Linked DNA regions of Homo sapiens: regions 2, 3, 4, 5, 6 and 7 are each linked to region 1. Evidence: promoter capture Hi-C in 16 types of primary human blood cells and fetal thymus (Javierre and others, 2016). All regions are on one chromosome and are shown on one strand. The core of a region is centred on a gene start or on the middle of the fragment in contact, and the rest is flanking DNA. Distances in the headings are between cores, read along the strand shown. Region 1 holds the start of SLC43A3 (solute carrier family 43 member 3). Region 2 holds the start of BTBD18 (BTB domain containing 18). Region 3 overlaps CTNND1 (catenin delta 1). Region 4 overlaps ZDHHC5 (zDHHC palmitoyltransferase 5). Region 5 overlaps CTNND1 (catenin delta 1). Region 6 overlaps TMX2 (thioredoxin related transmembrane protein 2). Region 7 overlaps CTNND1 (catenin delta 1).

The links. Contacts are between HindIII fragments. The CHiCAGO score rates a contact against its expected background, and 5 or more counts as called.
Region 2: a contact is called between the fragment with the promoter of BTBD18 here and the fragment with the promoter of SLC43A3 in region 1, in 2 of 17 cell types (total CD8 T cells and erythroblasts). The highest score is 5.8, in total CD8 T cells.
Region 3: a contact is called between a fragment that was not itself captured here and the fragment with the promoter of SLC43A3 in region 1, in 7 of 17 cell types (activated CD4 T cells, erythroblasts, monocytes and 4 more). The highest score is 8.1, in activated CD4 T cells.
Region 4: a fragment that was not itself captured here is called in contact with the fragment with the promoter of SLC43A3 in region 1 in 3 of 17 cell types (neutrophils, erythroblasts and monocytes); the score reaches 6.8 in neutrophils.
Region 5: a fragment that was not itself captured here is called in contact with the fragment with the promoter of SLC43A3 in region 1 in 4 of 17 cell types (fetal thymus, total CD8 T cells, erythroblasts and 1 more); the score reaches 7.9 in fetal thymus.
Region 6: a fragment that was not itself captured here is called in contact with the fragment with the promoter of SLC43A3 in region 1 in 3 of 17 cell types (activated CD4 T cells, total CD8 T cells and monocytes); the score reaches 8.5 in activated CD4 T cells.
Region 7: a contact is called between a fragment that was not itself captured here and the fragment with the promoter of SLC43A3 in region 1, in 6 of 17 cell types (fetal thymus, neutrophils, naive CD4 T cells and 3 more). The highest score is 7.1, in fetal thymus.

The regions. Positions count from the first base shown.
Region 1 is chr11:57,425,826-57,428,525 of GRCh38, reverse strand. It overlaps SLC43A3 (solute carrier family 43 member 3), which reads left to right and starts at 1,405. Exons shown (of 14, transcript NM_199329.3): 1 at 1,405-1,464; 2 at 1,874-1,938; 3 at 2,174-2,537. The coding sequence starts at 2,354. RefSeq lists a silencer at 1,286-1,645 and enhancers at 1,888-2,680, 1,789-2,700, 2,681-2,700. The HindIII fragment of the contact is 9,438 bases long and covers 1-2,700 here.
Region 2 is chr11:57,750,414-57,753,113 of GRCh38, reverse strand. BTBD18 (BTB domain containing 18) reads left to right here and starts at 1,295. Exons shown (of 3, transcript NM_001145101.3): 1 at 1,295-1,573; 2 at 1,878-2,049. The coding sequence starts at 1,926. All of the region lies in intron 2 of TMX2-CTNND1 (TMX2-CTNND1 readthrough (NMD candidate)), which reads right to left. The HindIII fragment of the contact is 11,151 bases long and covers 513-2,700 here.
Region 3 is chr11:57,781,842-57,784,541 of GRCh38, reverse strand. All of the region lies in intron 1 of CTNND1 (catenin delta 1), which reads right to left. All of the region lies in intron 2 of TMX2-CTNND1 (TMX2-CTNND1 readthrough (NMD candidate)), which reads right to left. Among named protein-coding and RNA genes, the nearest start is that of CTNND1, 21 kb to the right of the region's middle. RefSeq lists an enhancer at 1-286. The HindIII fragment of the contact is 3,687 bases long and covers 1-2,700 here.
Region 4 is chr11:57,698,580-57,701,279 of GRCh38, reverse strand. ZDHHC5 (zDHHC palmitoyltransferase 5) reads right to left here. Exons shown (of 12, transcript NM_015457.3): 11 at 1,862-2,700; 12 at 98-1,414. The coding sequence ends at 1,249. Among named protein-coding and RNA genes, the nearest start is that of MED19, 12 kb to the left of the region's middle. The HindIII fragment of the contact is 3,103 bases long and covers 1-2,700 here.
Region 5 is chr11:57,800,268-57,802,967 of GRCh38, reverse strand. It overlaps CTNND1 (catenin delta 1), which reads right to left. Exons shown (of 21, transcript NM_001085458.2): 7 at 772-1,235. TMX2-CTNND1 (TMX2-CTNND1 readthrough (NMD candidate)) reads right to left here. Exons shown (of 21, transcript NR_037646.1): 8 at 772-1,235. Among named protein-coding and RNA genes, the nearest start is that of CTNND1, 40 kb to the right of the region's middle. RefSeq lists an enhancer at 2,216-2,455. The HindIII fragment of the contact is 603 bases long and covers 1,148-1,750 here.
Region 6 is chr11:57,715,813-57,718,512 of GRCh38, reverse strand. All of the region lies in intron 1 of TMX2 (thioredoxin related transmembrane protein 2), which reads right to left. The region is part of intron 1 of TMX2-CTNND1 (TMX2-CTNND1 readthrough (NMD candidate)); the gene reads right to left. It also overlaps the pseudogene PPIAP42. Among named protein-coding and RNA genes, the nearest start is that of TMX2, 4.6 kb to the right of the region's middle. RefSeq lists an enhancer at 2,450-2,700. The HindIII fragment of the contact is 5,340 bases long and covers 1-2,700 here.
Region 7 is chr11:57,818,832-57,821,531 of GRCh38, reverse strand. It overlaps CTNND1 (catenin delta 1), which reads right to left. Exons shown (of 21, transcript NM_001085458.2): 21 at 1,992-2,700. TMX2-CTNND1 (TMX2-CTNND1 readthrough (NMD candidate)) reads right to left here. Exons shown (of 21, transcript NR_037646.1): 21 at 2,352-2,700. Among named protein-coding and RNA genes, the nearest start is that of CTNND1, 58 kb to the right of the region's middle. The HindIII fragment of the contact is 1,768 bases long and covers 496-2,263 here.

The sequences.
Region 1 (2,700 bases), core at 156-2,655:
GACTTGTTTTCTCTAATGTCCAAATGTTTGTTAAGACGGGGTGATGAGAGCATACGTTTCAGAGTTGGGAAGGTACTGCAGCTTTGTAGAATGACCGTGGGCAAGTTCCTTTGAAATTCCTCCCCAGAGCTGCTTCTCTGGCTCTGTCTACATAACTGCAGACTAGAAAATCTACTACCCTACAATCTGCCTATAGCACCTGCGCCATGCAGGGACCTCATACACCCATCTTATACTTCTTTTATGACAATTCCTATAATTAAGGTACTATTGTCCTCGTCTTACAGGTGGGGCAGCCAAAGAGCTTGCCTCAGGTTGTATAACTAGTGAGTAGCTTGGGGTACAGGACCCCAGCCACCCTTCCTCCATTCAGTCAAGTCACTAGGGTGGTTGCAGACTTTTATCTTTTGTGCTTTGGTGGTGAGCTGGAAAATCCTCAGTTCTGGCTGTCCCCTATCGTAACCTCTATTTCTTCCTCTTAAAAAAAAGAGGAGTGGGCTTGGAATAGCTGGAGTTCCTGGGCCCTCAGGGGATCCAGGTAGCTGGGGTTGGGAGTCTGCAGACTGCATCTAATACGCAAGAAGCTCTCCCCAAACTGAGCTTTTGGCAAGGAAACGGCCACACAGGCCAAAGAAGACGTCAGCTCACGTGCTCTGGGCTGGAAGGATAGTAAGGCAGCTGCTTAGTAAGGCCTCACGCTGATCACAAGCTCCGATGAGCAATTATATATGTCTTTGATTAATAAAAAATGGGGCAATGAATGGTTAATCAATGCAGTCTGGCGGGAAGGCTCTTTCAGAACCTGGGGGGCGGGGGTGAGGCAGGGAGTCATCTAAGGGGTTTTTGGGAGTGAAAATATGGGGCAGTCCTCCAGGGGATGGTTTCTGAAAAGCCCTCAGTCCTGGTTCTTGGCTTCCTGATTCTGTGGTTGGGATTTTTTTGGCAGCTCTGGGAGTGTGAAACTGGGAGAGACGGTTAAGCTGGTGAGCAAATAGGAAAAATATGTTCCCTGCCAACCCAGCGGTCAAGGCAAAATGCACAAATAGAGTGTGTGTGTCCCTATGCCCTCATGTGCTGTCTGTGTGTCCTCTGGGTGCTGGGTGTGACATTTTCCCTAGGTGGGCCTGAGCGAGTAACAGCATTCAACTAACTTGGTTAGGGGAGGCAGAGGCAAGGGGGCTGGGAGGCTGAAAGGCAGCGAGGAGGGAGGGAAAGACACCGCTGGGGTTCTAGGGGGTTCTAGAGGGAGAAGTTTCAAGAGGGAGAGGTAAAAAGGGCGCGGGAGGCTGTGAGCAAGGGAAAAGAAGAAGGAAGTGATGGAGAGTGGGAGGTCTGCCCCAGCCCCTTCCGGGCGGGCAGGAGGGGGCGGAGGCGAGCAGGGGACTGGGAGGGGCTGCGAGAGGCGCGAATGCGAACCTGGCCCGTGCGGAAAGGGCGCGGAGAGCCCCGGCGCGGAGCAGGCGGGTAGGGCGAAGGGTCCCCTTTCGGGCGCCATGGGGCGCCGAGCGCGGCCTGGCCCCTCGGGCTCCTCTGCGGGGAGGGCAGGCCGCAGGCTGGAGCGGGGTGCGGAGGCTGGCGGGGAGCGGCCCCCGGAGGCTTTCCTGGTAGAAGTTGATGCGAGGAAGGGCGGCGGGGACCAGGTTTGCGAGTCCTAGGCGAGGGTCATGGGAGTTGGGGGTATTTCTGGCAGTAGAATGGCCTGCGTCGTGACTAAACTAGCCCTGTGACCTTGGGCAAGTTCCTGAAATCCATGGGAGCTTTTGTTTCATTGTCAGTAAACTGAAGATAACACCAACTTGGCAGCGGGAGTTTGTGTCTTCTGTATGAAATCTCCCTGCCTCTGCACCTGGTTGAGTTGCTGTCATTATTTTAGGGGACGGTATTCAGAATTCGAGCGCAGGAGCTCCGCTTCTCCACCTGCTCCCGGGGAGCTATTGGGTAAGTCGTTTATCTCACCTGTGACTCCAGGTGGCCATCAAGACCTGCCTCTCTACTTGCCACGTGGTTACTCAAATGCAGTGCCTAAGATGATGTATTGGAGTATTTATTCCCCACATTTGCTGCCAGCGGCCATGATCATCCTGCCTCTTAATGCACCTCACAAATAACTCTAGTCTACCTTTCCCTTTCCCGCAGGCCTCCTCTTCCAGCAGCCTCTATCTTTATTCTACAGGATCCAGAGAATCACCCGCTGATGGTTTTTGCCCAGGCCTGAAACAACCAGAGAGCTACGGGAAAGGAAGGGCTTGGCTTGCCAGAGGAATTTTCCAAGTGCTCAAACGCCAGGCTTACGGCGCCTGTGATCCGTCCAGGAGGACAAAGTGGGATTTGAAGATCCACTCCACTTCTGCTCATGGCGGGCCAGGGCCTGCCCCTGCACGTGGCCACACTGCTGACTGGGCTGCTGGAATGCCTGGGCTTTGCTGGCGTCCTCTTTGGCTGGCCTTCACTAGTGTTTGTCTTCAAGAATGAAGATTACTTTAAGGATCTGTGTGGACCAGATGCTGGGCCGATTGGCAATGCCACAGGGCAGGCTGGTAAGGGCAGGGATGACTTTTCTAAGGAAGTTAAGTCTGGCTCCCACGTGGTGGCAAGGAGCAGGAAGGACTCTGCCCCCTGCCCACCCCTCTTTCTATGATGAGAGGAAGGGTCAGCAGCTCTCACCCCACTTGATCTGGGAAGTGCCTGGGAGGGAGGCAC
Region 2 (2,700 bases), core at 46-2,545, 320 kb before region 1:
GTGTGGCGCTGGCCGCGTGGCCTTACAACCCTCGCTATCACTACCACCCAGTGCATGTGGGTGCTGAAGCCCGCAGGGATACAAGGGCGCCAGGGGCTGCCTGCAAAGTCTATGCTGGCGGAGGTGGCCGTGACGGGAAGTCCTGACTTTGGGCCTCCCGGATCCCCACGGTCCATTCCCAGAAACCCTCGCGCCTAGGAGTCTTTCTTCAAAGGAGTTGGGCCAGGGCGCCCAAGCGTGCGGGCCACCCCGCTTTGCAGGGCTCTCCCTGAAGCCCTGCTTTCTCCGCCAACACCGATTCCCTTGCTTCTGGATGGGGAGGTGAAGCACTCAGCCGTTGGCCCACCTGCGCATCTTTGCTCAGCCTCCTGACTCAACGCTGAACATTGAGAGGAAGCAAGGCAGGCTGGACAGAGGACAAGCACAGAGAAGGCAACAGGAGCAAAGTCTACCGAAAAGCTATTTCAAGTTGGGTCTGGAGGCAAGGCCAGGCGATCGTGGATTGAGAAGCTTCCCCAGGGCCCTTGCAACAGCTGCCATCCTCCATCCACATCTCTCTCACTGGGATGGGAATTTTTTTTTTTTTTTTGAGACGGAGTCTCGCTCTGTCGCCCAGGCTGGAGTGCAGTGGCTCTATCTACAACCTCTGCCTCCCAGGTTCAAGCGATTCTCCCACCTCAGCCTCCTGAGTAGCTGAGATTACAGGCGCCTGCCACCATGCCCGGCTAATTTTCGTATTTTTGTAGAGACGGGGAGTCACCATGTTGGCCAGGCTGGTCTCAAACTCCTAACCTCAGGTGATCCACCCGCCTCGGCCTCCCAAAGTGCTGGGATTACAGGCGTGAGCCACCCCGCCCAGCCAAGCCCGCCTTCTCTTAATTTACCTTTTCATTCTTCTTTCCTGATAGTTTTGACGTGAACTGTTCGGACCCTCAGTGCTACCTGATAGAAAACTGCATTCCAGGAAAGGAACACAGCTGTGCAGTGAGTGGGGGGGTTTCGGAGCTAAAAAGCTGGACATAAGCCTGAAGTCAGAATACTCAGTTTGTTTTGGGAGGGGTAAAATGCTTTACTATCCTTGCTGCATTGTTAGCCTGGTAATTAACTATACAAACGTAAAGGCCAAATTCTTTGCCTACTACCAGGGTCAGTCAGGCTCGCTTTGGTCAAGTACACCCAGCCAAGGGTGGCAACGTCCTTGGTTCTGTGAGAGACCTTCCCGCAGAGTCAGAGGCTTCTCTTCTTTATTGTGCACCCTCTGCTGGTTAGTGTGATACAGTGAGCTCAGAGAAAAGGCGCATACGACTTACTAGAGATAATTTTATACCCAGTAATGTTTCCTTAAAAGTGTTAACTTGAAGATTATACCTGTGGAGCTGGGATGTGGTGCTCAGGAAGAATATAAGTAGTCAGCATTGTAGCAGTTGAGTCTCAGTGGTAATGGAAATGAGGAAGGTTGAAGGATAATAATAGTTACCATTTGGGGCTTGGTAGTTATTTTGTGCCAGGCACTCACTGTGCTAAGCAACTTTACCTTCACTGACTCATTTAATCTTTAAAACAACCCTACAAGGTAAGTACTATTATTCTATTTCATGGATAGGAAAGTGAGACTCAGAGAAGTTAGGTCACCTGTGTGAGATTATACAGCCAGGCTAATAAATAGAGCCAAGACCCAAACCTAGGCTTATCTCTGAGCTCCCACATGTAACCACTATGATAATTTTCTTTCTTGAGATATCCTTGGCACAATTTCTGGGCTGATGTTTCCTCAACTCATACTATTATCTCTCACTTTCAAAATTCCCCTGCCATTTCAAAGACAAAAAACAAATTAGATGTAACCATGCCTCTGAAATGTATTATCTCACCTACAGGAGTCTGATCTGTGAAAACCTAGAAGGTTTGTTAAGACTCTTGCCAACATGTGCTCTCCTGCCAGTCCCAAAATCCTATACAGGAACCCCCGGTTCCTCAGGTTAGCTTTTCTGCAGCTTCATCACCAGCAGCAGAGTGATGTGTTCTGTGATGTCCTTCTGCAGGCAGAAGGTAAGAGAGTGGTCGGAATTCAACTGAAAACTCACCATAGAATAAGATAAAATGAGTTCAGAGCCAGAGGGTAAAGGACAAAATCAGCAAAATATTACTGCCTATGACCACTGTAAACTATTTGGTAAAGGGCTGTTTGTTTCTAGGACAATTACTACTGTTTTCAAGAGTGAAATTGTGACTTTGCTTCTTTCTCTTAAATAATGAATCTAATTGTAAAGTTTTATAAGCAGATACATTCTATATAACATGGATAATATTCCAATGGGATGGTTGTGAAGATTAAGAGTTAATGTGGGTAAGCACTTAGAATAGTGCTTTTAATATACTAACCACAATATGTGTTAGATGATACTATTATGTTTTCTTTTTGAGAGTCTCACTCTCTTGCCCAGGCAGGAGTGTGGTGGCACAATCACAGCTACCTGCAACCTCCACCTCCTGGGTTCAAGTGATTCTCATGCCTTAGCTTTCTCAAGTAGCTGAGATTACAGGCATGCGCCACTACGCCCAGCTAACTTTTGTATTTTTAGTAGAGATGAGGTTTTGCCATGATGGCCAGGCTGGTCTCAAACTCCTGGCCTCAAGTGATCCACCCGCCTGGGCTTGCCAAAGTGCTGGGATTATAGGCGTGAGCCACCACGTCCGACC
Region 3 (2,700 bases), core at 142-2,641, 360 kb before region 1:
ACAGAGTAAGACTCTGTCTCAAAAACAACAACAACAAAACGAGTGTCACAAATTTATGCTCTCCATCTAAAAACAATGACAGGCAAAACTCCATTTCCATGTCGTTCTAGGGAATTTTTTTTTTTTTTTTTTGAGACAGGATCTAGCTCTTGTCGCCCTGGCTAGAGTGCAGTGGTGTGATCACAGCTCACTACAGCATGGACCTCGTGGGCTCAAGCAATCCTCTTGCCTTGGCCTCCCAAAGTGCAGGGATTACTGGCATGAGCCACTGTGCCCAGCCATTCTAGGGAATGCAAAGGGCTTTTTTCAAAAGCACACTGGGCTGGGCAAAGTGGCTCACACCTGTAATCCCAGCACTTTGGGAGGCCAAGGTGGGCAGATCACTTGAGCCCAGGAGTTTAAAGATCAGCCTGGGCAACATGGCAAAACCCCACCTCTACAAAAAAATTACAAAAATTAACTGGGCATGGTGGTGCACACTGTAGTCCCAGCTACTCAGGAGGCTGAGGTGGGAGAATTGCTTGAGTCTAGGAGGTCCAGACCACAGTGAGCCACAATCACTACATTGCCACCTGGGCGACAGAGTAAGACCCTGTCTCAAAAATAAATACGTAAATAAATAAATAAATAGCATACCAAGCCTCCTACTGCAGAATACTAATCAACAAAATATAGCACCTGTAACACTACAGAACTGTATTACATAACATTCAAGCCAGAAAGGGGCCCTTCAGATACCTAAAAGGCATTTATTTGCCTTAACTGGCACCTGACCCCAAATTTGAAGAAATATTCCGGTTCAACCACAAACAAACTTGCCATTTTGTTTCTAAATCAAAGAAATATATTTTGTCAAGATTTTCTATGGCTTTTTTTTTATTTTGAGATGGAGTCTCGCTCTGTCACCCAGGATGGAGTGCAGTGGCGCGATCTCGGCTCACTGCAAGCTCCGCCTCCCGGGTTCACAGCATTCTCCTGCCTCAGCCTCCCCAGTAGCTGGGACCACAGGCGCCCGCCAACACGCCCGGCTAATTTTTTGTATTTTTAGTAGAGACGGGGTTTCACCGTGTTAGCCAGGATGGTCTCGATCTCCTGACCTCGTGATCCACCCGCCGCGGCCTTCCAAAGTGCTGGGATTACAGGCGTGAGCCCGGCCTTTCTATGGCTTCTTATCAGTGCTTATACCAGAGTCCAAAGTCTAAGTACCCCGCCCTACCTCCACTTGATGTTCCACGTTTTTTTTTGTTTGTTTGTTTGTTTTTGAGATGGAGTCTTGCTCTGTCGCCCAGATGCAATGCCGTCATCTCGGCTCACTGCAACCTCCACCTCCCAGGTTCAAGCAATTCTCCTGCTTCAGCCTCCCAAGTAGCTGGGACTATAGGCATGTGCCACTATGCCTGGCTAATTTTTGTATTTTTAGTAGAGACACGGTTTCACCACGTTGGCCAGGCTGGTCTTGAACTCCCGACCTCAAGTGACCCACCAGCCTTGGCCTCCCAAAGTGCTGGGATTACAGGCGTGAGCCACCATGCCCAACCATGTTCCACCTTCATGCTCAGTCAGAACAGTTCTAGTATTTCTCACTTCACTGGGAAGACTCATCTTCTGTTAATTCCAAGTCCCTGAAGCTGATTTGCGTTAAGATTAAAAGGACTGTGCTCACTTCACAATCTCAACTGAGCACTACTCAAGTCACAAAACCTGTATTATTCTGGATATGGCCTTCTCCTAGTGTTCACTCTTTCTATGCTTCCTCATGGATCTGCTTCCTGCTAGGCCCAACTTCTCCATTTAGAAGTGTTAAATCAAGTTTAGCCTAGGCAAGTTTATGCCTCCTTACATCTTTTAAGTTTGGCCTAAAGATTTATCTGTACATAATGAACTATAACCTAAATGGTGGTAGAAATAGACTGTAACCTACTCTTGTGCCAATCACTGAGTTTTGGCCACTCAAAGGGGGCCAACTGTTCCAGCTGAGCCATAACCAATCCAGCTGTTTCTGTACCTCACTTCCATTTTTTGTTCATCACTTTCCTTTTTCTGTCCATAAATCTTCTACCACGTCTGCACTGGAGTCTCTGAGCCTACTGTGGCTCAGAAGGCTCCCCAATTAGTGAACTGTTCTTTGTTCAATTAAACACTGTTAAATTTAATTTAGTTAAGGATTTTATTTTAAAAGAGGGTAAAAGGCTGACCAAAGAAGTCTTATTTTCATGAGGAAAAACTAGGTGTCCACCAGGAATCTCTCTGATGAATTAAGGAAGGCTCTGGGCAGACCACCCTCCTCTTAGGAAAGAGTGATACATTCTCTCTGATTGGAACGTCAGAGAAAAGAATTTTTTAAAAAACAAAGATATAAACAAGATAATACTCCTTGTTAAAAGGAATTTGAGCTGGCAACCTCTATACATCAACAGGGTACCTTAAACTCCCTTTAGTCTTATAATCCTTACCCAAAGCTACCTGTCAATATTTAAAGTTTTTACTGCAACTTAAAAAAAAAAAAATCACCTCCACCATCATGACCTCCTAAATTCTGAGACCAAATAAAACATTCTTCTTTTTCTCTCTTTTCCCCTCCCAAGTATTCTGAGAACCCCCTCTAAACCATAACATACTAAAATGGCTTAGTGCTGGGCTGGCTTTGAAGCCAAGGAAGGGTGTGGCTCTCAGCTAGTGAGGGGGCCCAGGACTGAAAGG
Region 4 (2,700 bases), core at 28-2,527, 270 kb before region 1:
ACCAGAGAAGTTTATGAGGTTGTCACTGATAACTTCCCACCAGAGATCGTTCACCCTGTCTCAACCAGACAAAATAACACAAGTCAGGGGGCGCTGGTTAGATCAGGATTTCTTTTTATTCCTCGTTGGTTTAAAATGGCTAATCAGAATAAAAAATAAAAGGGCCTCTTTGTGGAGGCTGGGATCTCCCCTATTTAGAGGTTAGAACCCAGGTATCCCCTCTACCCAGCACCATAGTGAGGTGGGCTGAGGGGTAACCCCCAAGGGACAATCGGAGGGGCCTAGGCCTGCCACTCCTTCTCTCTATCCCCCGTTTTTGGCATGTGATGAAAAATATTGCTTTTTGGATTCTTCTCTCCTGGCCTTGGATTTTAAAATCAAGTTAACTGTGTAAGCTAGGGGAGGCTCCAAGGGGCCAGTAGGAGCACACTCTAATCCCTCTCCCCCAAGGAGGGGATTATCCAATATTGTTTGAGCTAGGCCAAGTTATTTTCCTGATCTCCCACCACCACCAGTGTCTTGAAGTTTTGACCCCTTTCCTAGGGAAACTAAATGCCAATGAGCCTAGAAAACTAATTCTCCTCTCCAAGTCCTTCCCTCTTGTGACCAAAATTCCAGACTCACCTCTCCCCAGGCTTCTTCCTAATCACACTTAGCACCAGCAGAGGATGCTATTTCCGTAGTTAGTAACTGGGACAAATGAGAGGGAACCACAGGAAAAAGACTGACGTCTCCCCTCTTTTCCTGCTGGTCTGAGGAATGGGAAGAGTAAGATCCCCCTCCGTATATGTATCCCTCCCTCATTTTCCCATCCCAGGATAGATATATAATTTCTTTGATATTTATAATATATATATATATATATTATATGTACACACACACCTGGTAACGCAGAAGAGGAAAAAAATAGAATCCGTAACAATAATAAAAAAAATTATTTCTGGTTTAAAAATGATCTGGTTCCCTCCAGGGCGAGCAATTGCACAAATGTCCACTGAGTCTGGTCCAGGGATCAAGGAAGGGAAGGTCTTAAAAGATAAAAGGGGGGGTTGCTACCCCAGTCTCAGGGCCCCAACTCTCCGACTCCCCAAGCCTACTGCATTTTAGAAAACACTCCTCATCCTCTTGGAATCGGTGGTTTAAAAAATGTCCATGCACGGGAGGGGAGCCCCTTGAGGGAAGGAAGGTGGCCACCTGGGGCCCTTTGGTGTAGGCGCAGAGGCGTTGGGGAGGGGAGGTGCCGAAGGCTCACACCGAAATCTCATAGGTGGTACCACCAACCCCTGACACCTTCTTGACTCCTCCCCTCGTGGGGCTACTGAGAGGTGGCTGGCCTGGGCCAGGGGAGGCTGAGCCTAAGCTCTTGGGCTGCCCGTTGGATTTGCTGTAGGTGGTCTTCAGCTGTACTTCATCTCTGGAAAGAAGAGACAAGACGTAGGTGTCAGGAAATGGGACAGAAAACATTGGAAAGGGAGACAGTTTCAAAGGTTCAGAGAAAAAAATGATGTTCTTTTCTATATCCATACTTTCTTACCCAAACATTCCCCTTTATTGCCCTGCTTAAAATAAGCCTGATTCCCAATCTCTCCTATGTACTACTACTCTCTAGTAACAGCTATCACATGTACTTACTCCCAAGCAAATACTTTTAGGAAGATAGCATTATGGAAAAAGTATTAATCTTCAGTCTCTTAACAGGAATTGCCCATGAAGGCAGGTAGAGTCAAAGTGAAAATAAAGAGCTACCAGGATACCCCTGGGTCCACCTACATTAGGATGTACAACAGAAGCCCTGATAGCTTTTGCAGAGCAGTATGCTAATTTGAAATTGGCTAAGGGTCAGGATAGTACTAATACTTACTTGGGTGTCAGTAATGGCTGCAAGGCCACTTCTTCTGTCTCAGAGACACCAGGTTGGGCTTTTTGGCTGCTGTAAGACATCGATCGGCCCAGGTATGGGGCTGTTGGGCCTGGTTCAGGGGACCCTACTCCCCGGCCCCTTAGCCCATCTGGCTTGCCAAAACGGGGGACAGCTGGGCGTCCCAGTGGAGTCTTGCCCAAAGGTGATCTCTTTGAATCATCTGAGGAGGAACTAGTACGAGGGGCATGGCCCGAGCCTGGTGTTGACTGAATGCCTGAGTCCCCCAAGCCTGGTTCTTCCTCACGGCCCGGGAGTGGGGGTGACTGGCGCAGCAACTTCTCTCGTTCCTGGAGAGAGGCCACAATGTGGCGCGACAGATTGTCGTAACGGACTGGTGAGGGCTCTCGGTGTGTTGGGCCAGTTGGCACCAAACGTGGGTGCCTCTCAGCTTCCCGTTGCTGGGCCAGCCTGGCTGACAGGAAGGGAGAGGTATAGCCTAAAGGTGGGTCTGGCTCAGGCCCTGCCTGCACTGACTCAAAATCAGGGCTGTCTGAAGGTGTGAGCAAGCTGTCATAAGATAGGCTTCCATTGCGTGTCTGGTTGGCCAGGCTCTTATAGGAGGTGGAGGTGGTGCCCTCTGAACGAATGGATTGCAACTGGCCCAGCTCAAAGCCTGTGCCCTGGGCTGACTTGAGGCTGGAGGAGCGTGAGCCACTGGATAGTGGATCGAAGTGAAAACTTTTGCCAAAGGTAGGAGAACGGAAGCTCTCTGGTTCCAAGCTGGGCTCTGAGCGGTAGCTGGGGTGACGGCTGCTCTCTGCAATTGAGGTTGGCTCCTT
Region 5 (2,700 bases), core at 200-2,699, 370 kb before region 1:
TTTACTCACTAGATGCCAGTAGCACTCCCTCTCCCCTGTTCCAAGTTATAACAACCAAAAATATCTCCAACACTGCAAATGTCCAAATGTCCTCAGGGCAGGGCAGGCAAAATGGCCCACAACTGAGAAACAATGGTCTATACTACTTTTTCTTTATTCCTTTCCCTTGGAATGCTGATTATGCTCCACAAAATTTTGTTTTATTCACTAACGGATCACACAAATAGATCACAACCCACAATCTGAAAAACTACTGCTCTAAATAAAGCAAGAACCACAAGCTTAAATGTCTATATGGGTCAAGCCGGTGAGTCAAGAGAGGAAGATAATTAAAAGAAATTACAAGCATGTGAAAAAATAGCAGTTGACAGCTCCATGTTTGGGAAACAACTTCCTAAACAGCTGTAGTTGGTCAGATAATAGAATGTGTTGGAGATTAGTGTAAATTAGAGAGCACATGCTCCAATCAGTTCAGACCAAATACTGCTAAGGAAGAAAAGAGATCCATTGTTAACAACTCTTCCACGTTTTTAATAGAAGCCAAGAATCTGGAATTTTAAGTGAAATCTTCTGAATTTTAAACATCAGCAACCAGTTCTTTAAAATTTCAATAATGCTGTGTGATCCAAACAAATCTGTGAGATGGATTTGACCCACAGCCACCAGTTCACAACCTTTCATCAAAAGTAAAAGGTCTGGAAATCCCTCTAGTTCTCAACATCACTAGAGAGTAACACTGACTTAGCAATTTTCCTTAGGCCTAGAACTCACCGGTAATAACTTCAGTAAGGTCCATATCACGAGCCTTTCGAAGCAATCGCACAAGGGCAGGCACACCATCACAGTTTTTTATGGCAATCTTGTTATCCTGGTCACGTCCAAAAGAGATATTCTTGAGAGCTCCACAGGCTCCAAGGTGCACTTCCTTTTTGGGATGGTCTAACAATCCCACCAGTACTGGGATGCCCTTGAGCTTCCGCACGTCAGTCTTCACCTTGTCATTGCGGTAGCATAAGTGTTGCAGGTATGCAGCTGCATTGGACTTGACAGCATCCAAGCGGAATCCAAGCATGGCGATCACCTCTGGCAGCTCTGGCTGTCTCCAATTAGGAGGTGGAGGCCCTCCTTTGCGCAGGCTATCCAAGCTTGCTAAACTTCCTCGCTCATGCTGGGCCAAAGGAGCCCAGTAGTATTGATCCGATGGCACCTCCTCACCAATCATGTCTTCATAGCTCCTGAGAAGTTTTGGAAGAACCAAGAGAATACATCAAGTCATTATGGCTAGCTTCCTGGACATTCCCATTACCCTCATCTGCAAAGGAGGATTAACTGGAGTTTCAGTGTGCTCATCTTATCTCTCCTTTGCATGAATAATATACTGATCAATTTTCCTCAATGGGTTAGTAAAAATAAAAGGTAATAATTTTAAAAACACCTGCAATTTAATTAAAACTACATTTTTTTCTTTGAAGTCTGCAGGCTTAGAAAGTAACAAGCATTCAGGAAAGGCTAATCAAAAAGAAAGAACCAAATCCTTACTACTTATCATTTATTTGAATGATATCTGACAGTTATTAACTTGTCTAGGTAGAGATCAGGATAAACTCTCAGAGAACAGAATTAACCAAAGCAACTGACTCAATGCCACAGAAGTCTGAGAACAGTTCCTTAACCAAACAGGAAATTAGGCATTTACACACAGGAAACAACTGGTAGGATAAGACCTTTAAATACATTTCATATTTAAGCTTCTCCTTATCCTATTTTGGAAATTATAAAAGATGGATTGATAGAGAAAAACTAATAAAGGGCTTCCTGCTACATCACAGGAGGATCTGGCTTTGGTACTGATGAGGTATAAACTTGAAAAGTAATTTTCACAGTCATTCCAAGGTCATGTCTGCTACTCAACAAATGTGTTAAGAGGTAAGATTCCATCCTCCAATTTCTAAAGACAATACCTCCAGCTCTTTCAAAATGAAGCCTATTCACCAACATCACATTTGGGAAGCCCAGCCACTAGGAACAGAGAAAGCAATTGAAAGTAAGAAAAATCAAACCAGGAGACAATTCTTCCTGTTTCAGTACTACCAACAACCACTAGAGGGTGAGTCTGTCACACTATTATTTATTCGTAACTACCAGGAAGGAAGAAACCCATTATCTGTGAGCTCATCTCTTTCTGGCTCCCACAGGAGAGGATAATCTATTGTGTGGAGCTCTCCAAATAAGCCATTGTTTGTTCTACAAAACCACTCCCACTGTCAACAAATACTCAAGGTTGCCCTGAGCAGAAGGCCTGCCTCACAGGTATCAACATCAACTATGCAACAGTGATTCAGATGGACAAAGCATTTAGTAAACCATGACCAAGATGGTCTTAAAATAACACGGAAACAGGACCAGGCATGGTGGCTCACATCTGTAATCCCAGCACTTTGGGAGGCTGCAGTGGGCGGATTACCTGAGGTCAGAAGTTCGAGACCAGCATGGCCAACATGGAAAAACACCATCTCTACTAAAAATACAAAAATTAGCTGGGCATGGTGGTGGGCACCTGTAATCCCAGCTACTTGGGAGGCGGAGGCAAGAGAATCGCTTGAACCCAAGAGGTGGAGGTTGCAGTGAACTGAGATTGTGCCACTGCACTCCAGCCTAAGTGACAGAGCGAGACTCTATTTCGAAGAAAAAAAAAAAAAG
Region 6 (2,700 bases), core at 82-2,581, 290 kb before region 1:
TTTGACATCACCGTGGATGGTGAGCCCCTGGGCCGCATCTCCTTCGAGCTGTTTGCAGACAAGGTTCCAAAGACAACAGAAAACTTTCGTGCTCTGAGCACTGGACAAAAAGGATTTGGTTGTAAGAGTTCCTGCTTTCACAGAATTATTCCAGGGTTTATGTATCAGGTGGTGACTTCACACGCCATAATGGCACTGGTGGCAAGTCCATCTATGGGGAGAAATTTGATGATGAGAACTTCATCCTAAAGCATACAGGTCCTGGCACCTTGTCCATGGCAATTGCTGGACCCAACACAAAAGGTTCCCAGCTTTTCATCTACACTGCCAAGAGTGAGTGGTTGGATGGCAAGCATGTGGTCTTTGGCAAGGTGAAAGAAGGCATGAATATTGCAGAGGCCATGGAGCGCTTTGGGTCCAGGAATGGCAAGACCAGCAAGAAGATCACCATTGCTGACTGTGGATAAGTCTAGTAAGTTTGACTTGTTTTGTCTTCACCACCAGACCATTCCTTCTGTGCTCTCCTCTCAGGAGAGCACCCCTCTACCCCATTTGCTCGCAGTATCCTAGAATCTTTGTGCTCTCACTGCAGTTCCCTTTGGGTTCCGTGTTTTCCTTGTTCCCTTACATGCCTAGCTGGATTGCAGTTAAGTTTATGATTATGAAATAAAAACTAAATAACAACAACAATAAAAAGCTAGGGAAAGAAAATAAAGAATGAAAACAAATTCTGGCCTCTGCCTCTGCCTCTGCCTCTCCCTCTCCCCTCTCCCCTCTCCCCTCTCCCCTCTCCCTCTCGGTCTCCCTCTCCCTCTCTTTCCACGGTCTCCCTCTGATGCCGAGCCGAAGCTGGACTGTACTGCTGCCATCTCGGCTCACTGCAACCTCCCTGCCTGATTCTCCTGCCTCAGCCCACCGAGTGCCTGCGATTGCAGGCAAGCGCCACCACGCCTGACTGGTTTTCGTACTTTTTTGGTGGAGACGGGGTTTCGCTGTGTTGGCCGGGCTGGTCTCCAGCTCCTAACCGCGAGTGATCCGCCAGCCTTGGCCTCCCGAGGTGCCGGGATTGCAGACGGAGTCTGGTTCACTCAGTGCTCAATGGTGCCCAGGCTGGAGTGCAGTGGCGTGATCTCAGCTCGCTACAACCTCCATCTCCCAGCCGCCTGCCTTGGCCTCCCAAAGTGCCGAGATTGCAGCCTCTGCCCGGCCGCCACCCTGTCTGGGAAGTGAGGAGCGTCTCTGCCTGGCCGCCCATCGTCTGGGACGTGAAGAGCCCCTCTGCCTGGCTGCCCAGTCTGGAAAGTGAGGAGCGTCTCTGCCCGGCCGCCATCCCATCTAGGAAGTGAGGAGCGCCTCTTCCCAGCAGCCATCCCATCTGGGAAGTGAGGAGCGTCTCTGCCCGGCCGCCCATCGTCTGAGATGTGGGGAGCGCCTCTGCCCCGCCGCCCCGTCCGGGATGTGAGGAGCGCCTCTGCCCGGCCGCGACCCCGTCTGGGAGGTGAGGAGTGTCTCTGCCCAGCCGCCCCGTCTGAGAAGTGAGGAGACCCTCCGCCCAGCATCCGCCCCATCTGAGAAGTGAGGAGCCCCTCTGCCCGGCACCAACCCCGTCTGGGAAATGAGGAGCGTCTCCGCCCGGCAGCCGCCCCGTCCAGGAGGGAGGTGGGGGGGGTCAGCCCCCCGCCCGGCCAGCCGCCCCGTCCGGGAGGTGAGGGGCGCCTCTGCCCAGCCGCCCCTACTGGGAAGTGAGGAGCCCCTCTGCCTGGCCAGCCACCCCGTCCGGGAGGGAGGTGGGGGAGTCAGCCCCCCACCCGGCCTGCCGCCCCGTCCGGGAGGGAGGTGGGGGGGTCAGCCCCCCGCTCGGCCAGCCGCCCCGTCCGGGAGGGAGGTGGGGGGGTCAGCCCCCCACCCGGCCAGCCGCCCCGTCCGGGAGGGAGGTGGGGTCAGCCCCCCGCCCGGCCAGCCGCCCCGTCCGGGAGGTGAGGGGCGCCTCTGCCCGGCCGCCCCTACTGGGAAGTGAGGAGCCCCTCAGCCCGGCCAGCCGCCCCGTCCGGGAGGGAGGTGGGGGGGTCAGCCCCCCGCCCGGCCAGCCGCCCCGTCCGGGAGGGAGGTGGGGGGGTCAGCCCCTCGCCCGGCCAGCCGCCCCGTCCGGGAGGGAGGTGTGGGGGTCAGCCCCCCGCCCGGCCAGCCGCCCCGTCCGGGAGGGAGGTGGGGGGGTCAGCCCCACATCCGGGAGGGAGGTGGGGGGGGGTCAGCCCCCCGCCCGGCCATCCGCCCCGTCCAGGAGGGAGGTGGGAGGGTCAGCCCCCCGCCCGGCCAGCCGCCCGGTCCGGGAGGTGAGGGGCGCCTCTGCCCGGCCACCCCTACTAGGAAGTGAGGAGCCCCTCTGCCCAGCCACCACCCCGTCTGGGAGGTGTACCCAACAGCTCATTGAGAACGGGCCGGGATGACAATGGCGGTTTTGTGGAATAGAAAGGGGGGAAAGGTGGGGAAAAGATTGAAAAATCGGATGGTTGCCGTGTCTGTGTAGAAAGAAGTAGACACGGGAAACTTTTCATTTTGTTCTGTACTAAGATAAATTCTTCTGCCTTGGGATCCTGTTGATCGGTGACCTTACCCCCAACCCTGTGCTCTCTGAAACATGTGCTGTGTCCACTCAGGGTTAAATGGATTAAGGGCGGTGCAAGATGTGCTTTGTTAAAC
Region 7 (2,700 bases), core at 130-2,629, 390 kb before region 1:
GTCCATTCATGGATAGCTATCCATGGTCATTTTACACTGCATAAAAGGAGAAAAATGTCAGGTTAAAATGATGCAGACCAATCAACCTATCTTACCTCCTCCAGCTTTCTCTTCATCCATGTCTGTCTCTAAATCCTGGATGGATCAGTTGAAGAACTAATGCTTTAAGTGACACAGGCAACAGAACAGTCTTAAAGCTGTGTGAAAAAAAATTGTTCCTAACAATTATCTTGTTTCTTTTTTGAGCTTTCCTGAGGTAGCTCTTTCTGGAAGCTACCAGAGTGATTTAAGTTTCCAGATGTGGTCTCCTTGGCTTTAGCCAATGGGGCCACTTGCTCGCCAGTTGAGATACCCTTTGTAGCTAGAAGTGACACTTAAGTCAAAGTCGGCAATTCCAGGGGATTCTCTGTGACCTACAGGACCCCAAATTAAGGGCTAGCTTCCTGCCTCAGCAACCTGAGCATTACCTACATATGATTTTCAGGATGAGAAGCTTCTCCTACCCAGATACCACACACCAACCTATCACTTACCATTATCTCAAACTCTATTGAAAGCAATGCATTCCTTTGAGATAAAGTTTCCTCTATGAATGCTCTCTTAAAATGGTGATCACCACATCATATTGTCTACATTCACCATGCTAGTATTACTGCCAGTGGAGTTGAAGCCAGTAATCCTGGGTTCCACTTTGAGGCTATAACCTTAAGCAAGTCACTAGATCAGTCCCTTAAGTCACAGTTAACTGACCACATACATCAGAATAACCTGGATGGGCCAGGCATGGTGGCTTATGCCTGTAATCCCAGCACTTTGGGAGGCCTAGGTGGATGGATCACCTGAGGTCAGGAGTTCAAGACCAGCCTGGCCAACATGGTGAAACCCCGTCTCTACTAAAAATACAAGTATTAGCTGGATGTGGTGGCGGGTGCCTGTAGTCCCAGCTCATCAAGAGGCTGAGGCAGGAGAATCGCTTTAATCCGGGAGGCAGAGGTTGCACTGAGCTGAGATCGTGGCATTGCACTCCAGCCCGGGTGACAAGAGTGAAATTCCGTCTCAAAAAAAAAAACAAAAACAAAAACAAAAAAAAAGAGGATAACCTGGATGACTTACCATGATTTTAGATTCCTCAGTCCCACCTACTGAATCGATTTTTGGAAATGGAACATGGGACTCTGCATTTTCAACAAGCATACAGGGAATTCTTATGTAACTTGCTCAGATATACAGGGCTAGGTCTAGTCAATTCCATCTATGAAAATATTAAGAACCTTTGCTTCAGATATAAAAATAGACAAAATGAGAAAAAAATGATATGGAAAGACTGGTTCTTAGTTCTTCCTGGGTGAGGTGATTCCAGTTTGTAGCAAAGAAAATTAGTTCAGCAAGAAAAACAAGTGGCCGGCCATGCGCAGTGCCTCACACCTGTAATGCCAGCACTTTGGGAGGCCAAGAAGGGTGGATCACTTGAGGTCAGGAGTTTGAGACCAGCCTGGCCAACATGGTGAAATCCTGTCTCTACTAAAAATACAAAATTAGCCAGGCGTGGTGGTACACACCTGTAATCCCAGCTACTCGGGAGGCTGAGGCAGAAGAATCGCTTGAACCCAGGAGGCTGAGGTTGCAGTGAGCCGAGATTGTGCCCCTGAGTGACAGAGCAAGACTCTGTCTAAAAAAAAAAAAGTGGCCAAGTGAGGTCCCAGCTTTGACCTCTGTCACAAAGTACATCAGTGTCAAGAAACTTGTGAGATAGGGCCTTTACACATCATTCTGTGTAACATCTCATTGTATTTAGATATGGCACAGAGAGAAGTGTTTTTAAGATCATAGATCTTGTCTATGGCCATATCACCCTGAACGCACACGATCTCGTCTGATCATAGATCTTAGCTATAGAGGATTCTCATGGATTGCAATCTATGAGAAAAGATCCATCTGTTTCACTCTCTAATCTAAACCTAACCTTGACACAACGCTTAGCATATAGGAGGTGCTTGGCAAATATTTATTGAATGAGATAAACAAATGGACCAATCCAGAAGGAAGAGAGAAGAGTAGGGTTTGTATCTAGCTCAATGCCAAAGGATAAGAACATAACAGGGAAATAAAGTGTTGCTGACAAGCAGCCAGGCTTTTCTATTTAGATAAAAATCATCTCAAGCAGGGCTATCAAAACTCTTTGGAAAGTAAACTCTTAATAGCTTTTTGGCTTTGTACTTCAACCTCTAATCTAACACTACAATTGTTAGACACAAATCAAGCTTTAAAAGCTAGTTGATTTCCTGGTCTCACTAGCCCATGAAAGTTTTCATACCCAAGTCCTAGTTCAATAAAACAAGACAGGACCATCATCAGGAGCAGCTATATAATTTTAATCTAAAGATTTGGGCATACAGAAAGCATTTCACATAAATTCTCTTGAGTCTTTAATTATATGACAGGACATAAGGACCTCAGAAAAATAAGTATCTTCCCATAGATCTTAACCCTTGATCTCTGCAGCAAAGATAGTCCCTGGTAATCCAGGTAATATGGTCTGTAAAATATTAATAAATAGGCCTATTGACTTCTGACTAAAGGACTGCATATAGCCTGAGAAGCAACATTATGGCCCAGTGGTCAGTACTTATATACATGGGCCTTTTGATCCTACATTTTCCTATTACGTAGTTGGGATTGGTAGTTTCTAATCTTCTAGTC